3 separate regions of the Homo sapiens genome follow, and all the other regions are linked to region 2. The links are contacts of gene promoters, found by promoter capture Hi-C in blood cells and fetal thymus (Javierre and others, 2016). All regions are on one chromosome and are shown on one strand. The core of a region is centred on a gene start or on the middle of the fragment in contact, and the rest is flanking DNA. Distances in the headings are between cores, read along the strand shown. Region 1 overlaps DCAF12 (DDB1 and CUL4 associated factor 12). Region 2 holds the start of MYORG (myogenesis regulating glycosidase). Region 3 holds the start of UBAP2 (ubiquitin associated protein 2).

Region 1 (2,847 bases), core at 192-2,691, 280 kb after region 2:
CTGCAGTGAGCCGTAATTTTGCCACTGCACTCCAGCCTGGGTGACAGAGCGAGACCCTATCTCAAAAAAAAAAAAAAAAAAAAAAAAAAGGCCTGGCGCGGTGGTTCACGCCTATAATCCCAGCACTTTGGGAGGCCGAGGCAGGTGGATCATGAGGTCAAGAGATTGAGACCATGCTGGCCAACATGGCGAAACCCCGTCTCTACTAAAAATACAAAAATTAGCTGGGCGTGGTGGTGGGCGTCTGTAGTCCCAGATACTTGGGAGGCTGAGGCAGGAGAATCGCTTGAACCCAGGAGGCAGAGGTTGCAGTGAGCCGAGATCATGCCACTGCACTCCAGCCTGGCAACAGAGCAAGACTCTCTCTCAAAAAAAAAAGCCTCCAAAGTCCAAAACTTTTTGAGCACCAACACAATGCCACAAATGGAAAATTTCACATGGGACACCTTTGCTTTCTGACAGGTCAGTGTACCAAACATTGTTTAATGCAGAAAATTATTTAAAATATTGCATAAAATTACCTTCACTCTATGTGTATAAGATGTATATGAAACATAAATGAATTTTGTGGTTAGACTTGGGTGCCATCCCCAAGATAGCTCCTTACATATATGTAGATATTTAAAAATCGGGGCCGGGTGCGGTGGCTCACGCCTATAATCCCAGCACTTTGGGAGGCCAAGGTGGGCGGATCGCAAGGTCAGGAGATTGAGACCATCCTGGCTAACATGGTGAAACCCCGTCTCTACTAAAAATACAAAAAATTAGCCGGGCGTGGTGGTGGGCGCTTGTAGTCCCAGCTACCCGGGAAGCTGAGGCAGGAGAATGGTGTGAACCCAGGAGGTGGAGCTTGCAGTGAGCTGAGATCGCGCCACTGTACTCCAGCCTGGGCGACAGTGCGAGACTCCGTCTCAAAAAAAAAAAAAAAAAGCTGGAGAAATCCGAAATTCAAAACATTTGTAGTCACAAGCCTTTTGGATAAGGGAGATTCAACAAGCAACTTTTACATAGAGTTAAACCTACCTGTGAATCATTTGTCTTTTTTTTATTTTTTTTGAGACAGAGTCTCACTTTGTTGCCCAGGCTAGAATGCAGTGGCACGATCTCAGCTCACTGCAACCTCCGCCTCCCAGGTTCAAGTGATTCTCCTTCCTCAGCCTCCTGAGTAGCTGGGATTACAGGCATGCACCACTACCCCTAGCTAATTTTTGGTATTTTTAGTAGAGATGGCATCTCACCAGGTTGGCCAGCCTGGTCTCAAACTCCTGACCTCAGGTGATCTGCCTGCCTTAGCCTCCCAAAGTGCTGGGATTACAGACGTTAGCCACCACGCCCAGCTTTTTCTCTTCTTCTTATCCTTGAGGACTTTGCAAGAGGAAGCAGGGTTCCAGGAATTAGTGATTCCTTCATGTCACAATAGCCTTTGAGCTCCACTGACCTTGTATGCTGTCTTATGTGTTGTATGCACCCACTGAGGATTTGCTAACTGACGAAGACCCAGGGTTAAGGCTGATGTGGGTTATCTGGGATTAAGCTAGTCCCATGGGCGTGCTTTCTATAGCGTACAATTCCCATTCAGGTGGGAAGGTGAGCTGGGGGTAGCCAGAGATCAGCCTCTTTATCTGAAAAGCACTGAGGTGGCCCTTCCTGGCAGACAGAACAGAGTGGGACTATGGCTTTAGTGCCCTGGAACGATTCCCAGAAACAACCTGAATAGTTGAAACAGCCTACCAAGAAAGGCCTTGGCCTTTCCAGCTACTTCTGATTATTTATTCCAGATTTACCTTTTCCCCAACCTATCTCCTTCAGTATCTAGGTCTTACCGTTTATTAACATTCACCTCCTCTTTCTCCTGTATACCTAGGGGTGGAACAGAGTGTTATTTCTGTAATCAGGGCTTGATTTTATGTGGCTTTTATATGAGGGAAGCCCATCAAGGTGGGAGTCCAGAAACAATATCCCTGCCTTACCCTCTCTGCTGATGCCATGGTTATATCTCTCCTCTATTTTCAGCTCCTCTCCACCAAACTGCCATATTGCCGTGAGAATGTGTGTCTGGCTTATGGTAGTGAATGGTCAGTTTATGCAGTGGGCTCCCAAGCTCATGTCTCCTTCTTGGATCCACGGCAGCCATCATACAACGTCAAGTCTGTCTGTTCCAGGGAGCGAGGCAGTGGTAAGAGTCCCTGTGTGCACCTCAGGCCTACAGCTGCACTGCATATGGGTTCTGACTTTCAGTTTCTTTGTTGGTTTCCAAACAGGTATAGTGCTCTGTATGGAACATTTGGAAGTGTGTTCAAAAAGGGGAGCGATGGCTAGGCGTGGTGGCTTACGCCTGTAATCCCAGCACTTTGGGAGGCCGAGGCGGGTGGATCACCTGAGGTCGGGAGTTTGAGATCAGCCTGACCAATAAATATGGAGAAACCCCGTCTCTACTAAAAATACAAAATTAGCCGGGCGCAGTGGCGCATGCCTGTAATCCCAGCTGCTCAGGAGGCTGAGGCAGGAGAATTGCTTGAACCTGGGAGGCGGAGGTTGCGGTGAGCTGAGATCGCACCATTGCACTCCAGCCTGGGCAATGAGCGCGAAATTCTGTCTCAAAAAAAAAGGGGTGTGGGGGGAGTGACACAAAAGGGCACTAGACTTTCAAACACCACAGACAAATGTGTGGCCACAGAAGCCTTTGTTGGGAGCCACCAGTCAGGATATTAGTTAGTAGTTTCCATGTTCTTTTAGAAAGCTCTACTTTTTTTTTGTTGTTGTTGTTTTTTTTTTTTGAGACAGAGTCTCGCTCTTTTGCCAGGCTGGAGTGTAGTGGCGTGATCTCAGCTCACTGCAACCTCTGCC
Region 2 (2,813 bases), core at 38-2,537:
GAGGCGGGAGGGGATAGCTTGAACCAAGGACATTGAGGCTGCAGTGAGCTATGTTAACGCCACTGCACTCCAGCCTGGGCGACAGAGCGAGACCCTCTCTCAAAAAAATAAAGACCGGACGCGGTGGCCCACACTTGTAATCCCAGCACTTTGGGAGGCCGAGGCAGGTAGATCACCTGAGGTCAGGAGTTTGAGACCAGCCTGACCAACATGGTGAAACTCTGTCTCTACTAAAAATACAAAATTAGCCAGGCGCGGTGGTGCGTGCCTGTAATCCCAGCTACTTGGGAGGCTGAGGCAGGAGAATTGCTTGAACCCGGGAGGCGGAGTTTGCAGTGAGCTGAGATCGTGCCATTGTACTCCAGCCTGGGCAACAAGAACGAAACTCAAAAATAAATAAATATAAAAATAAAATAAAATAAAAAAGAAATGAAACCTCAGAGTCTTGCCCAGCCCCCGGGGAGAGGGGCATGGCGGGGCACACCCACTTTCCCGCAGCTTGGGCATTTCTAACTAAAGGCTGTAACTTAGGAGGAGGGGCTGGACCCTATAAATAACTAGTCTGGGGGTAGCGGTCTGGGAGGCGGGTGACGTTGCAAAACACCGAGCAGAAACCGGTCTTCTCAGTCCCTGACCTCGGACACCGCTGGTTTGGTCCGGTGGGAACCGACAGCTTGGACTCGCGGCGGGTTGGAACTACAGCTCCCTCCGTGGGGCCCTCGATTGGAAGCACCTGCATTGGGAGCTGAGATACTCGCGGAATTCCGCCACCACTTTTCCGTATGGAAAGCTGAGGGCTTGTGAGAGCGTTATACCGATATGGCCTCCACCTGTCCAAACCGGGAAGGAAGGAATTCCAATGGCCAGCTCTGCTCCTTTACCCTGCAGCTCTCTCCCTCTCATCCTCATTCCAAACCTAGCCTAGAGGTGCAAGAACCCCAACCTTCCGCAGCTGCTCCTTTCTGCAGAACTACATGTCCCAGCAGGCCTGGGGCCGAGCCCCGCCCGCTTGCGGGTTAGCAGTGGCCCAGGAGGGGCGGGCCCGCCGGCGGGAGTCGGAGCCGCGGGGCGCAGGACTGAGCAAGCCTGAAATGCCAGGGGCAGAGCACAGAGCGGTGGGAGGAAGGTGGGGCTGAGGGGCGGGGCCACAGATCCGCCTGATAACCTGGGAGGAGGGGTCGAACGTCAAGGGCAGGGCTGGACTCTGAGGCCCGAGACGAGACTGGATGACTGGGGCGTGGCCGAGGAACCCCAGGGCGGGACCCGAGGAGGGGCTGTGCCCTGCCAGACAGAGCCCCGCGCGGCGCGGCGGCAGCTTCACTCTGGTTCAAGCGCAGGGGATCGGCGGGAAGCTCTTTCACCCCCGCTTCTGCCGGGCTGTAACTGCAATGGGTGAGCCCAGCGGGAGGGCTGTGGGGGGCGGGGGGCTGCTGAAGGAGCACGATTCCTGAACTTTCGCTCCCACCGATGAATGGGTGGAGCGAGCCTGAACACCTGGGCCCATCCCACGGCCGCGATTCCCGCGGGGCGACAGGTCCCTTGACCTCGGTCGGCCCCTTCGGACAGTATAGCCTTCAGGGCGGGGTAGGGAGGGCGGCTGTGGAGTATTCCAGGCTATGTAGGCAGTCACTCGATCCCCGCGGATACCGTCGCCTGGCAGGAGAGGGAGATGGGCCGGATCGAGTTGCCTTTGACATTTCCATCCCCCCGGGAACTGTGTCCAACTAACGATTCTACTTGGAATGGCCTCCCCTCAGTTGAGTCGGGCGGGGCCCTCCCCCTCAGACCAGACTAGCTGTGGCAGCCAAGGCTGAGGTTGAGTGTCCGGTGGGGAGAGGCTCAGCAGGGGCAGAGCCCAGACTCCACCTGGCGGAGGCGGCAGATTACAGAGGTCTCTGGCACCACTGTTAACACCGGAACCACAGACTTCCTCCCCCAAAGCCCCGGTACCAGATGCCATTAAAATTGCCCTCTTTGCTGCCCTCGTGGTCTTCGTGGTCCGCGTGGAGCAAGCAGCAGCACCAGCCCTTGGAAAGACAGGCCTCACCATGCCATGTCCATCTGATGGAAGCTGGTCCCACCAGCTCAGCCCCAGGGCTCCTTTCTGCTACTGCATTCAGGCAGCCAGGTCAGATCATTATCTCCCATCTCCTAAAACTTACACTGTGGAGAGCTGGGCTGGGATTTTAGATCCAGGCAGCCTTGATACCTGGCTAACTTCAGACAAGTTCCTTTTTCTGTTTGGGCCACGTTTCCTCACCTGTAAAATGGACACTGCAGCTATGTCTGCTGTTCCACATTGTTGATAGAACTGGATGCTGTGGTGACATTTGGGACACTATCATGGTGCCTGGGGTGGGTGGGTGCCCAGGCCTGTGGGCTTCTGTCTTTCATCAAAGAACTTCAGATCCCAGAAAATTAAGATTCTCAAAACATAACTGTCGGAAAGGGCTTTTGAATCCACCTTGGTGGCCTCTTCCTGCCTCCAGGGCTCATGAGATAGGCTGACTTCATATGAAAGTTTTGAGGATGAGGAAGTCTCTCTCCTCTTCAGATACTGACCCTCTCTCTCCTTATTTCCTTGGTGCCCAGAATAGGGCTTTGGTTATCTTGAATGAATGAATATAAACTCACAGGTGTGATCTGAGCCACCTAAAGCCTTCTTTGGGTTCTGCTCAGCTTGAGGGCATCACCTAAAGGCCACTGGCTGCATTTTCCAGGAGGTGTTTTCTAAGCTGTATCTATATAGGAATGGGGAGGAAAGCTAAGTCATTGTAGACTGAGAGAAAGGGAATAAGAGTCTGTTCCAGACC
Region 3 (3,081 bases), core at 428-2,927, 330 kb after region 2:
TGAATAACAAAGGCTTTATTTGAACTAGATAGGGCTGTTTAAGATGTCAATTGTTTTACTTAATAACTAGCAAATTAGTAATTAGCATAGTGCCCTGTACAAAGTTCAGTATAAGCTAATTTCCCCTTTCTACCTTACTTAGACCTTTTGGGCCCGATGGGTAGAGTGTGAAAATGATTACTGATACTTACTGAGGGTTTATTATGTGTCAAGCAGGCATTTTACATAATCTCATTTAATTTTCACAAGCCGGTGAAGTGTTATTACAGAGGAAAGCTCCAATTGAGATAAGGCATGCCGGGACTGCAAAGTCCTTGTATGTAACTAGCTTGGGATAAAACAGGCCAGTAAGTAGACCTTGAGAGCTTGTTTAGAGGACCTTGAGAGCTTGTTAACACGGGCGTGCAGCTACTCCTATATCCTTGACTTGTCCTCTTCTATGGGGGATGCTCCTCCTTTTCGACCGAATATGCAGCTTCGGGAGGGACGCACATGGAGAGGTGCGGGAGGAAGGGGCCACCCGCCTAGACAGCCAGATCAGCCGAATCAGCCCTGGCGATCTATGGGGTGACAAGATAGCCAGAACGCCCTCACATCCAAACAGGCCAGTAAATGGAAAATACTTTAAAACACCATGCTACAATTATAAACCATCATCTTATTTATTCGTAATTCTTGGAGTTGACAACAGGTCAGATCCTATTGAGAGGAGGTCATTAATTTTCTAAAGACAGAAAACCTGGGTCTCTTCGGTCAACAAACAACTCTAAGGTTCTTTTTTTAAATCCTTAAATAGGGAAAATCCTGGACTCAAGGAGTTGATTATATGATATAACAGAAATAAACGGCTGACTTGGAGTAGGCGTTCAGTAGATTCTAGTCTTTTCACCCAGAAGGGGCTTGGGAGGGCAAAAGTAAAACCGCACTGAAAAAGACTAAAAGTGGGCGCACCTTCCGCCTTGCCGAGGCTCTCGCTGCTAGCCGTTGGCGTTTTCCCGCGCAGGGGGCAGGGCGCAGAGCGAGCCCAGGAACGTGGGAGCGGAACCCCACCCCCCGCCAGGACTACACCTCCCAGCAGGCACCACGCTCCGCCACATGGCGGGCGGCATCCAATGGTATTAGTCCTTCAAGCCAGCTTAGTCCGCTTTCCGTCCCGGCCTTCCCTCGGCTCTAAGGTCTCTAGGGGGTTCGTCTAGAAGCCCGCTGGAGAAAGGCTGCGGTAGGGGTCGCCTTGGCTGTGCAGCATGTTGGGAGTCGTGGTCCCCTCGTGCAACATTTGGGAGGCCAGGCTTGCCCTGAGTGGTTGGACCACATCACGTGATGAGCACAGGGCGGCCACAGGGGAGTAACCTGTGGTGCTTTGTGAGGTCATCACGGCGCGACGACGAGCTGCAGTTGTGGGCACCTTGTATGCGGTGGGTAATACTCTCCTGATGACTCCGAGTACAATACATATTATCAAGTCTCCCTTATTTGTTCCTTTCTGTGGTCCCCACCTCCACGCGGTTGGCTTCGCGGGGTTGGGGTGGAGGTGGTGGCTGGAAGAGGCCGCGCGCCGCCTAGGCTGACTCTGAAGCCGCGCACGAGCGACGTGTTGTGGCTCCTCCTTCGCCCGTGACGCGAGGTCACGTGACGGGTTGGGCAGCCTGTGCCGCCGCCGCCGCTTTGTAAGAGGCACATTGGCAGGTAACGAGCGGCGGCGGCGGCAGCGGGTCTTGGGTCCTCCGAGAGCAGCAGCGGTAATTGCCATCCTCTCCCTCTCCTTCCCTCTTCCAGGGCCCTGAGCGCTGCAGCGTGTGCTTTCTAATTCTGGGTTCAGCTCGTCTGAAACCCCACCGCCTGCAGACTGCCCCGGCGCCCACCCGTGAGGACCGGGCCGAGCTTCACTCGCCAGGTCCACGGTCCCTCTACGTCCAGGCCCGGGCTCCCTCCTTCCTCTTCCCCTCACGTTGCCCTGTGCTTCTTCCTACTTTCCCCCGTCCAGGTCGGCTGGGCCCCACCCAGCCCCAGGGGTGCCTCCCCTCCCCCCTTTCGGGTTTCTGCCCTGGAGGGTGTGGTTTTCTCTCCCACCTCGGTGCCTGCCAGTAGACTGGAGCTTCCCCGCCACGCTGTCGGTCCCATCTCATCACCTTTCCGCTTTCACGCCCGTAGCTAGTCTTGGGACTGGCCCTGTTATAGCCCCAACTTATGCGCTCTCTAACCTTTCCTGGCTTACCCGGAGTCACAGTTCAGTTCTACTTCTTTTCAATTCTGTAGGGCATTGGTCTCAATTGGGACTCAGTTTTCCTCCACACCCGCCGTTCCTGTAGTCTGGTTATATCACAGTTCATTATTTAATGTAGGTTTTTGAGCGCTTTGTAAACGGCAAAGCTCTCTCTGTTAATAATACATACTCAAAATGTTATTCTTTCATTGGTGCATTACAACTCAGTTGTTTGCCTCTGAATCACTTTCCCACTCGGCTTTTCCACATTTTCCCCTGAGTTTTTAGTCTAATTAGTTGCCCACGCATCTCAACTGTCACCACTCTGGTCTCTAATGCTTGCTCGCTTTAGGGGTTGATCCCATCATTATTACTGTTATTTCCTGTTTGATGTAATCCAGTCATTTACTACCACTTCTATTGGATATTGTTTTTACCTCACATTCAAGGAAGGTATATGGTTTGCCAGTATTTAGGCTTATTGTCTTTCTACAGCACCAGTGTATCCTAACAGTTGAGAGATTTTAAAAAATTACTATTAATTTTAGAGATATGGTCTCCATATGTTGCCCAGGCTGGCCTCCAGCTCCTGGGTTTAAGCGATTCTTTCACCTCAGCCTCCTGAGTATCTGGGATTACAGTGTGCACCACGGTGCTCAGCTAGTTGAGGGTTTTTTCAGGTCTCCATAAGGTATCCAAAGATTATCTTTTATTTGAAGGGCATATAATTTCTTGGGTGAACCCAGTTCTTATATTCCTCTTCCGTTGTGACAGCACTTTTTTCAACAAGGGGTATGCGACTAGTTATTGCATTCCTCACTTTTCACTGTGAATTGTGTATCCGTTTTAGTGCCAGTTTGTGAAAGGTGGAAGGAAGT

Evidence for each region. The method cuts DNA at HindIII sites, captures the fragments that hold promoters and counts their contacts. A CHiCAGO score of 5 or more calls a contact.
Region 1: a fragment that was not itself captured here is called in contact with the fragment with the promoter of MYORG in region 2 in 3 of 17 cell types (endothelial precursors, M0 macrophages and M2 macrophages); the score reaches 7.6 in endothelial precursors.
Region 3: the fragment with the promoter of UBAP2 here is called in contact with the fragment with the promoter of MYORG in region 2 in 2 of 17 cell types (neutrophils and M0 macrophages); the score reaches 5.9 in neutrophils.

Annotation. Positions count from the first base shown.
Region 1 is chr9:34,092,615-34,095,461 of GRCh38, reverse strand. It overlaps DCAF12 (DDB1 and CUL4 associated factor 12), which reads left to right. Exons shown (of 9, transcript NM_015397.4): 7 at 2,014-2,176. Among named protein-coding and RNA genes, the nearest start is that of DCAF12, 33 kb to the left of the region's middle. The HindIII fragment of the contact is 3,819 bases long and covers 1-2,847 here.
Region 2 is chr9:34,375,372-34,378,184 of GRCh38, reverse strand. It overlaps MYORG (myogenesis regulating glycosidase), which reads left to right and starts at 1,287. Exons shown (of 2, transcript NM_020702.5): 1 at 1,287-1,392. RefSeq lists a silencer at 923-1,312 and enhancers at 1,358-1,938, 1,939-2,520. The HindIII fragment of the contact is 6,785 bases long and covers 1-2,813 here.
Region 3 is chr9:34,047,483-34,050,563 of GRCh38, reverse strand. It overlaps UBAP2 (ubiquitin associated protein 2), which reads left to right and starts at 1,677. Exons shown (of 29, transcript NM_001370062.2): 1 at 1,677-1,739. It also overlaps the pseudogene RN7SKP114. RefSeq lists enhancers at 1-854, 1,045-1,574, 855-1,710, 1,711-2,567 and silencers at 1,605-1,694, 1,845-1,894. The HindIII fragment of the contact is 37,851 bases long and covers 1-3,081 here.